Regions from separate parts of the Homo sapiens genome. Here all the other regions are linked to region 1. The links are contacts of gene promoters, found by promoter capture Hi-C in blood cells and fetal thymus (Javierre and others, 2016). All regions are on one chromosome and are shown on one strand. The core of a region is centred on a gene start or on the middle of the fragment in contact, and the rest is flanking DNA. Distances in the headings are between cores, read along the strand shown. Region 1 holds the start of C1RL-AS1 (C1RL antisense RNA 1). Region 2 has its middle 23 kb from the start of APOBEC1. Region 3 holds the start of IFFO1 (intermediate filament family orphan 1).

What was found. Contacts are between HindIII fragments. The CHiCAGO score rates a contact against its expected background, and 5 or more counts as called.
Region 2: a contact is called between a fragment that was not itself captured here and the fragment with the promoter of C1RL-AS1 in region 1, in 1 of 17 cell types (fetal thymus). The highest score is 5.7, in fetal thymus.
Region 3: a contact is called between the fragment with the promoter of IFFO1 here and the fragment with the promoter of C1RL-AS1 in region 1, in 9 of 17 cell types (activated CD4 T cells, non-activated CD4 T cells, naive CD4 T cells and 6 more). The highest score is 22.9, in activated CD4 T cells.

What each region holds. Positions count from the first base shown.
Region 1 is chr12:7,106,769-7,109,592 of GRCh38, reverse strand. It overlaps C1RL-AS1 (C1RL antisense RNA 1), which reads right to left and starts at 1,285. Exons shown (of 12, transcript NR_026947.1): 1 at 1,112-1,285; 2 at 646-920. C1RL (complement C1r subcomponent like) reads left to right here and starts at 379. Exons shown (of 6, transcript NM_016546.4): 1 at 379-483; 2 at 1,114-1,342. The coding sequence starts at 413. RefSeq lists enhancers at 438-517, 1,158-1,327, 160-1,359. The HindIII fragment of the contact is 2,026 bases long and covers 1-1,847 here.
Region 2 is chr12:7,641,248-7,644,166 of GRCh38, reverse strand. No RefSeq gene overlaps it. Among named protein-coding and RNA genes, the nearest start is that of APOBEC1, 23 kb to the left of the region's middle. The HindIII fragment of the contact is 2,109 bases long and covers 205-2,313 here.
Region 3 is chr12:6,554,734-6,557,433 of GRCh38, reverse strand. It overlaps IFFO1 (intermediate filament family orphan 1), which reads left to right and starts at 1,392. Exons shown (of 10, transcript NM_001193457.2): 1 at 1,392-2,177. The coding sequence starts at 1,405. NOP2 (NOP2 nucleolar protein) reads left to right here. Exons shown (of 16, transcript NM_001258308.2): 16 at 1-563. The coding sequence ends at 441. RefSeq lists silencers at 1,215-1,374, 1,425-1,664, 1,775-1,954 and an enhancer at 2,415-2,700. The HindIII fragment of the contact is 7,963 bases long and covers 19-2,700 here.

The DNA.
Region 1 (2,824 bases), core at 36-2,535:
TCAAGGATCACAAACTTCAATTCTACAAGAGGGAGGCTCCCCGGGTATGTCGTGAACGGAAAGGTCGGGGAGGAAGAGACATGGCTGATTGAAGGCAGCAGCCATAACTCACAAGGAGCCATCCTACACACATGGCAAAAATTAATGTTAAATAGTACAAAAGGGTCGAGTCAGTGCCCTGCCACCCTGACCTCTGAGGGCCAGCGAGGTTTTTGGACGTTTCTCCCCTAAGCTGCGGCGGGCCCGCTGTTCCTGAGTCAGACGGCAGGTGGCGCTCAGCCCGGAGAATTGGAGAAGGGGAACTGTGGAGTTGCTTAACATTTCCAGGAACTTCCTCCTCCCCCACCGGCCTTCACCTTTTGTTCCCTATCCTGGGCCAGTTCTCTCGCAGGTCCCAGATGTCCAGTTCCAGATGCCTGGACCCAGAGTGTGGGGGAAATATCTCTGGAGAAGCCCTCACTCCAAAGGCTGTCCAGGCGCAATGTGAGTGTGGCCCCGGCAGAGGAGGAGGGAAGAGGACGGGAGGGGAAGAGAAAGGGTGGGTGGCCGCAAACCCTCCCTCCCCCCACCCTACCCCCCCCACACACACATCCCCCCCCCCCCCACACACACACACACACACACACCTCCCCCACATACACACACCAGCAGCAGCAGCAGCAGCAGCACAGCAGATATTCCATGGGGAGACTGAAATTTGCCTGTGGCCTCTAGCACCTTCCCAGAGGGTGGTCGGGGGATATTTACGGCAGACCCTCACTCGCCCCACCATTGCTCCCTCGGATCCCAGGGTGGGGTGGGATCTGCTGAAGCAGAAAGCACCCCCCTCCTTTGGACGAGACTCTCCTGGGAGATGAGCAAAGGTGATGTCTTCGGAGGATGGAAAACCCACAATCCTAGAGCTCAGGCTGCGCGGGAGGCTGTAGGGATTGGGGTGAGGAAGGGGAGCAAGGGAGGAGACGGGAAGTGCCCGGGCCTCAAGGGTGAGGCCACAGCTTCTAGCCCTGCCTCGCGAGGCCTCTGAGTCCTAGCGCGGCTCCCCCGCTCCTCCCACACCCACAGGCTTCCGGCCATAGCTGCGCGGCCCCACCTTGCCCTCCCCCCAACTCACAGGTGGTGGCTGCTTCTCTGGGGAGTCCTCCAGGCTTGCCCAACCCGGGGCTCCGTCCTCTTGGCCCAAGAGCTACCCCAGCAGCTGACATCCCCCGGGTACCCAGAGCCGTATGGCAAAGGCCAAGAGAGCAGCACGGACATCAAGGCTCCAGAGGGCTTTGCTGTGAGGCTCGTCTTCCAGGACTTCGACCTGGAGCCGTCCCAGGACTGTGCAGGGGACTCTGTCACAGTGAGCTGGGGATGGGGGGGGTCCCGCCAGGACTGTGGCCAGGGAGATTCCCGGGGTTGTGGGAAGTGGCGGTGCCCTGAATCCCCCATCTGGAGGAGGGATGAATTTTCCATGTAGGGGCAGTCGGGCTTGGCTTACCGGGGAGCAGTGGTGGACCCCAGGACACAGCCTCCCACCAGCGCCTCCGGGGCTGCCATCTGGGCCCCACAGAGCAAAGAGGGCAGCAAGCAGGCCCTGCGTTTGGAAGGCTTATGAATGGACACACAAATCTTGCAAATCTATGGAGCCAGGGGCAGGGACGCACATATTGGTTGTTAAAAATATGTCATCATGTATTTGTTGAGTGCCTGCTCTATCAGGTGAGGAAGCTGGACACAAATAATAACAAAAGATTAAGTCACCGTTCACACTTACCTTGGAAGAGCTATTACAAAACTTCTAACGCCAAAGCCTTATTCAGAATAAGGACATTTTAAAAACAGTACTTGATGGAGTGATGCAAGCTTGCAGTCCCAGCAGTATAGTCAGGAGACTGAGGCTGGAGGATCAGAGGGCTGGAGCCCAGGGTTCAAGGCCAGCCTAAGCAACATAGCAAGACCCCATCTCAAAAATAAGTAAATAATAAATAAAAATAAAAAGAGCACATTATCTTTTGATTTAAATTTTATTTATATCAAAATGACATAAATTTTTGAACTTTATTTTTTAATTTTAAAATTTTTAATTATTATGGATACATAATAGTTGTAAGACTTTTTGTTTTTTAATTAAAGTTTTCTAAGGCTGGGCGCAGTAGCTCATGTCTGTAGTCCCAGCACTTTGGGAGGCTGAGGCGAAAGAAGCACTTGAGCCCAGGAATTTGAGACCAGCCTGGGCAACATAGCAAGACCCCATCTCTACAAAAAAATTTAAAAATTAGCCAAGTGTGGTGGCACGCACCTGTGGTCCCAGCTACAAGGGACGCTGAAGTGAGAGGATCACTTGAGCCTGGAAGGTAGAGGCTGCAGTGAGCTCTGATCATGACACCGTACTCCAGCCTGGGTGACAGAGTGAGACCCTGTCTCCAAAAAAAAAAAAAGGTTTTTAAAAAGGTTTATGAATAACAGCAGTCTCCAAGCTGTTCCTCCCCGCCCCTGAGTGCTGCTCCTCAGGAGCAGTCATTTGCCAATTCATGTAGCTGTTTCATCTGGTCTTTAACTTCATATGTATAAATAACATGCTTATTTGTCTTTCATTTTTACGTATTTTCTATTAATGCTCAACTACAGTATAGAAGATAAGGACTAGCTTTATCTGTCTTCAGTCTTCACCACCCACATTTCCCCTCCTCATTCTGCCAGTTTACCTATATTATCATTTTTAGTTAAATCTTTATTCATTATTTACATTATTATGACTGTAAAATATTCACATCTGAGCACATAGCATAAAATAATTATATTTCTTTTCTTCTCCAACTTTTGGGTTTCCTAGGAGTCAATA
Region 2 (2,919 bases), core at 10-2,509, 530 kb before region 1:
AGAGATGAGGGTTTTCACTAACACCAAATTTCCTGGGTTAAATAAAGGTGGTTCTGTTTCCTGGGGTTGGACTTCTGTTAGTTGCGTTAATTCTTGTTGGAAGTGAGCTAGAGAGGTTACATGCTTAACCAATTTAGAGGTTTCCTGCCTGAAAACAATCTCTGAGCACACTGATAAGTTTTATCCTTTCCCAAGTGAAAAGCTTGGTGAAGGATTTTAAGGACATTGGCTGGAGGCTGGCAAATGGAGTTTGCCATCCTCTGACTGTAGCCTTTCTGAGGGCTGGGAACTACGTCCTCGAGAAGTGGCCTATTTTATTTCTGCAGGGAAATACTGAGGTTTAATTTTTCTTATGGAGCCTTCCTAGATTAGAAGGGGCTTAAGTGCCTTAACGGCTTGAGGCTTCCTTGCCTCTGACTTAACTGCCTGATCAGCTAACCTATTTCCTTTGGCTACCTCATTTGTTCCCTTTTGATGTTCCTTACAATGCATTCCTGCTATTTCTTGTGGAAGAAAAACTGAAGATAACCTGCTAATTTCCTGGTGATATTTTTATAGGGGATCTATTAATGGTAAGAAAATGTCTTTTCTTTCTTTCTTTCTTTTTGAGACGAAGTCTCGCTCCGTCGCCCAGGCTGGACTGCAGTGGCGCGATCTCGGCTCACTGCAACCTCCACCTCCCAGGTTCACGCCATTCTCGTGTCTCAGCCTCCCAGGTAGGTGGGACTACAGGCGCCTGCCACCACGCCTGGCTAATTTTTTGTATTTTTAGTAGAGACGGGGTTTCACCATGTTAGCCAGGATGGTCTTGATCCCCTGACCTCGTGATCCGCCCGTCTGGCCTCCCAAAGTGTTGGGATTACAGGCGTGAGCCACCGCCTGGCCGAAAATGTCTTTTCTTTCAAATGGCAGCATGAGCATGGAGAACCAAGAAAGCATACTTGGAGTTAGTATAAATGTTAGCTACCTTTCCCTTGCTTAATCCAAGTGTGCTTGTAAAAGCTGTTAGCTCAGCTAATTGAGCGCTTGTGCCTGGGGAGAGACGTTATTTAGAGTGACTACTGCTTATCCTGCCTTATGTACTTCTTGCTTTACTGGCGGTTTGTTGGCTAAGAGCTCCCCCTAGAGGACAGTAATCCTGCCACATTATGTGGGGTGTAAACAGTTAAATTATTTCCTAGGGTTAACTTGGAGGCTTTTCTGATTAGCGAGCTGTCATGATAATGGCTTGGAAGCACGTGTCAACTAAGGTTGAGAAAAATACTGGAGTAGAGTTTTTCCTGAGATGCCCCTTCTGGTTGTGCTATGGGAAGAGGGGAGGCCTGGATTAGAGAGGAGAAAAAAGAGAGACTGGCTGAGTGTTTAGAAAGAGGTCTACTTTCCTTCTTTTAATTTCCAGAATCACTCAGAGCTCCTGTGCTGTAATGGCAGTTTGAGCCGCTGGAGCTGGAGTTTGAGCCCCGGGATCCAGTTCTGCTGGATCATCAGTAAGACTGGTTCTGAACCCAGTGACCTCCACCTCTGGGGGCAGTTCCATCTCCTGTTGTCTCTGCCACAGGCTGGAGAGGGTTGAGGTGGCTTTGTCTTGCTGTATGGGCATTCTTTCTTAACATGCTCTGGCCTGCCACACTGATAGCAACTAGCAGATGCACCTCCGGGATCCTGGACTTTGCAAGCCTGCAAAGCTGCTGCTAGAGTCTCTGTCCTTCTGACCATTGTCTCTTTCTTTTGGGCCTCCTCCTGGTTCCTATTACAAAAGACCAAAGTGGCCACTTTCAGGAAGTTCTCTAAGGTGCTATCTGGTCCTATAGCTTGCTTGTGTAGTTTCCTTTTAATATTGGCAGCTGCCTGTCTAATAAACTTGTCCTTTAGGATGAGCTGTCCCTCGACTGAATCAGGGGATAAGGAGGGGTGTTCTGTTAGTGCCTCTCTCAGCCTTTCCATAAAGGCTACAAGATTCTCATCTGGCTGTTTATCATGGACAGTTTAGAGTAATTGAGAGGTTTGGCCCTGGTTTTCCGTAGGCCCTCTAATGCACACTTAAAAAAGAGCTTCCTTTTCATCTCCTGAGTTATTGGGGTCCCAATTAGGGTTGTCAAGGGAAACTGCTTTCCTCCCAATTGGGAATGGCATTTCTGCTATTTCTTCTCTTTCCTTATCTGCTTTCTTCCCTTTTGGTGTATTATAGGAGATATGTTGCTAATCTCTGAAATCAGAGCTGCCTGCTTTTCAGCTGCAGTGAGGGTCTGACTTAGGAGCAACATAACATCCTTCCATCTGAGGTGAAATACCTGAGTTAAATTTTGGAAAGCTTTTTTTTTGAGACGGAGTCTCACTCTATTGCTAGGCTGGAGTTCAGTGCCGTGATCTTGGCTCACTGCAACCTCCACATCCTGGGTGCAAGCGATTCTCCTGCCTCAGCCTCCCAAGTAGCTGAGATTACAGGCACATGCCACAACGCCCAACTAATTTTTGTATTTTTAGTAGAGACGGGGTTTCACCATGTTGACCAGGATGGTCTCAATCTCTTGACCTCGTGATCTGCCCGCCTCAGCCTCCCAAAGTGTTGGGATTACAGGCGTGAGCCACTGCGCCCAGCCTGGAAAGCTTTTATATACCTATCAGGGTTGTGAGAAAATTGGCTAAGTCTCCCTTTATTACAGGCCTAAGGGGCTGTAACGAGAAGGGAACTTGAAGGGGCCCCCAAAGAAGGGGGATCTTCAGATGGCTCCTCTGGAAGTTGCTTTTCTAATTTTGGGGAATTATTTTCAGTGAGCGTGCCTGATATGATTCCTAAAAGAGCTGGGTTGATCTTACACTGCTTGCAAAGTTTCAGTAAAAATACCATGCCCTTGTGCAAAATAAAATGAGTTGCTCTTCTCTTTAATGTCCTGAGGCTAAGAAAGTTTCAGTGTTTCA
Region 3 (2,700 bases), core at 143-2,642, 550 kb after region 1:
GTCACAAAGACCCAAGCTTCCTCCAGCTTCCAGGATAGCAGTCAGCCAGCTGGAAAAGCCGAAGGGATCAGGGAGCCAAAGGTGACTGGGAAGCTAAAGCAACGATCACCTAAATTACAGTCCTCCAAGAAAGTTGCTTTCCTCAGGCAGAATGCCCCTCCCAAGGGCACAGACACACAAACACCGGCTGTGTTATCCCCATCCAAGACTCAGGCCACCCTGAAACCTAAGGACCATCATCAGCCCCTTGGAAGGGCCAAGGGGGTTGAGAAGCAGCAGTTGCCAGAGCAGCCTTTTGAGAAAGCTGCCTTCCAGAAACAGAATGATACCCCCAAGGGGCCTCAGCCTCCCACTGTGTCTCCCATCCGTTCCAGCCGCCCCCCACCAGCAAAGAGGAAGAAATCTCAGTCCAGGGGCAACAGCCAGCTGCTGCTATCTTAGATGGTTGAAAACTAGACGGGTGGCTCACTGCCATTGTCACCAGGTTGGAACTCTTGCCTCTGTGAGGATGCCTTCTCTACTGTGCATACCCATGAAATTTAATACACATTTTAAAACCTCTGGCCACTGAGTATTTTTGAGGGAACTGGGTGCTGCCTTTGCCGCTTTAAGGGTAAAGATGGGAGGTGGGACTGGGATCTTCTGAGGAGAGGGAATGGTTGGGTGCTACTGAGAAATAAGGTCAGTTTTAGGCTCCTGCATCCTTGGGTTTTCCCAGGAAGGGAAAGCCCTGGAGTCAGAGCTAGGGGTGATTGAACTCCGGGGAGAGGAGGGCAATAGAAGTGTAGGGGAAGGCGGGGCACACTAGCTCATGCCTGTAATCCCAGCACTTTCTGGGAGGCCAAGGCGGGTGGATCACCTGAGGTCAGGTGTTCGAGACCAGCCTGGCTAACATGGCGAAACCTCGTCTCTACTAAAAATACAAAAAATCAGCCGGGTGTGGTGGCGGGTGCCTGTAATCCCAGCTACTCGGGAGACTGAAGCAGGAGAATCGCTTGAACCTGGGAGGCTGAGGTTGCAGTGAGCCAAGATCGCGCCACTGCACTCCAGCCCGGGCGACAGTGAGACTCGGTCTCAAAAAAAAAAAAAGTCGTGTAGGGGAGATGGGCTTGCCACCAGAACCCATGGGGTACTGGAGGTCCTGGGCTTTACGCCACCCCGGCTGGAGTCCAGGCGGTGGCTCCCCTCATCACAGGGCTCGGCCTCAGACCCGGAAAGGTCCAGGGTCCGGCCTCCAATTGGAGCCTGTCATTGGCTTCCCCTCGGCCCGCCCCCTGACCTCTGCCCCGCTGCCGAGCCGCCTGATTGGTCGGCTCTGTCCCGCCGGCGCCGCATTGGCTCTTCTGGCTCGCCTTCCATCCCTGCTCCTGCACCGGTCTGCATCTCCCAGCAGAAGGCGCAGCCATGAATCCGTTATTCGGCCCCAACCTCTTCCTCCTGCAGCAGGAGCAGCAGGGCCTGGCCGGGCCACTGGGGGACTCACTGGGAGGCGACCACTTCGCCGGGGGAGGAGACTTGCCCCCGGCGCCTCTCTCGCCGGCCGGCCCTGCTGCCTACTCGCCGCCCGGGCCGGGCCCGGCCCCGCCTGCCGCCATGGCCCTCCGCAATGACCTGGGCTCCAACATCAACGTGCTCAAGACCCTGAACCTCCGGTTCCGCTGCTTCCTGGCCAAGGTGCATGAGCTGGAGCGCCGGAACCGGCTGTTGGAGAAGCAACTGCAGCAAGCGCTGGAGGAGGGTAAGCAGGGCCGGCGGGGCCTGGGTCGTCGCGACCAGGCAGTGCAGACCGGCTTCGTCAGCCCCATCCGGCCCCTGGGGCTGCAGCTGGGCGCCCGGCCGGCCGCTGTCTGCAGCCCTTCGGCGCGCGTGCTGGGCTCGCCCGCGCGCTCCCCGGCCGGCCCCCTCGCGCCCTCCGCGGCCAGCCTCTCGTCGTCCTCCACCTCCACCTCCACCACCTATTCCTCGTCGGCCCGCTTCATGCCCGGCACCATCTGGTCGTTCTCGCACGCCCGCCGGCTCGGGCCGGGACTGGAGCCCACTCTGGTGCAAGGGCCTGGCTTGTCGTGGGTGCACCCGGATGGGGTGGGCGTCCAGATCGACACCATCACGCCCGAGATCCGCGCTCTCTACAACGTGCTGGCCAAAGTGAAGCGGGAGCGGGACGAGTACAAGCGGAGGTAGGGATTGGGAAAGGGGGACAGGTCTCTCTGTGTCATACCACTCACAACGGGCCGCGAGTTGGTGTGGGTTCCGAAGAATCAGGGGTGAAAAGAATGAGAGTAAAGTTTGTGCTGTGTAATGAGGAGCTTGGAAGCAATTGGATGCAGGGAGACTAGAATCCGCAGAGAATGCAGAAGCCCTGCTCGTGACAGGAAGAAGGACGCTGGGAGCGGAACACGGGGGGATTCCTACTTTTCCGGCTTGTCTCTGCCATCCAGGCTTAACTGCGGGTTTTGTGCGGTGTGAAAGGGACTGGGGCTCTGCCCTACCGGTCTCAGCCCTGGGGCAGGTTAGGGATATAAACTTCAAAAGTAGGAGGCAAGGATATAGCGTAAATTTGGGAGACTAAATTGAGTGAAACTGGAAGGGGCTGGTGAGGGAGGGGCTGTACCTTGCAACGAGTGATTCTTTCACACCCCAAGGTTTCCCAAAGAATATTGATGGAAACCAGGTACCTGCTGTGGTTTCATAGGAAAAGCT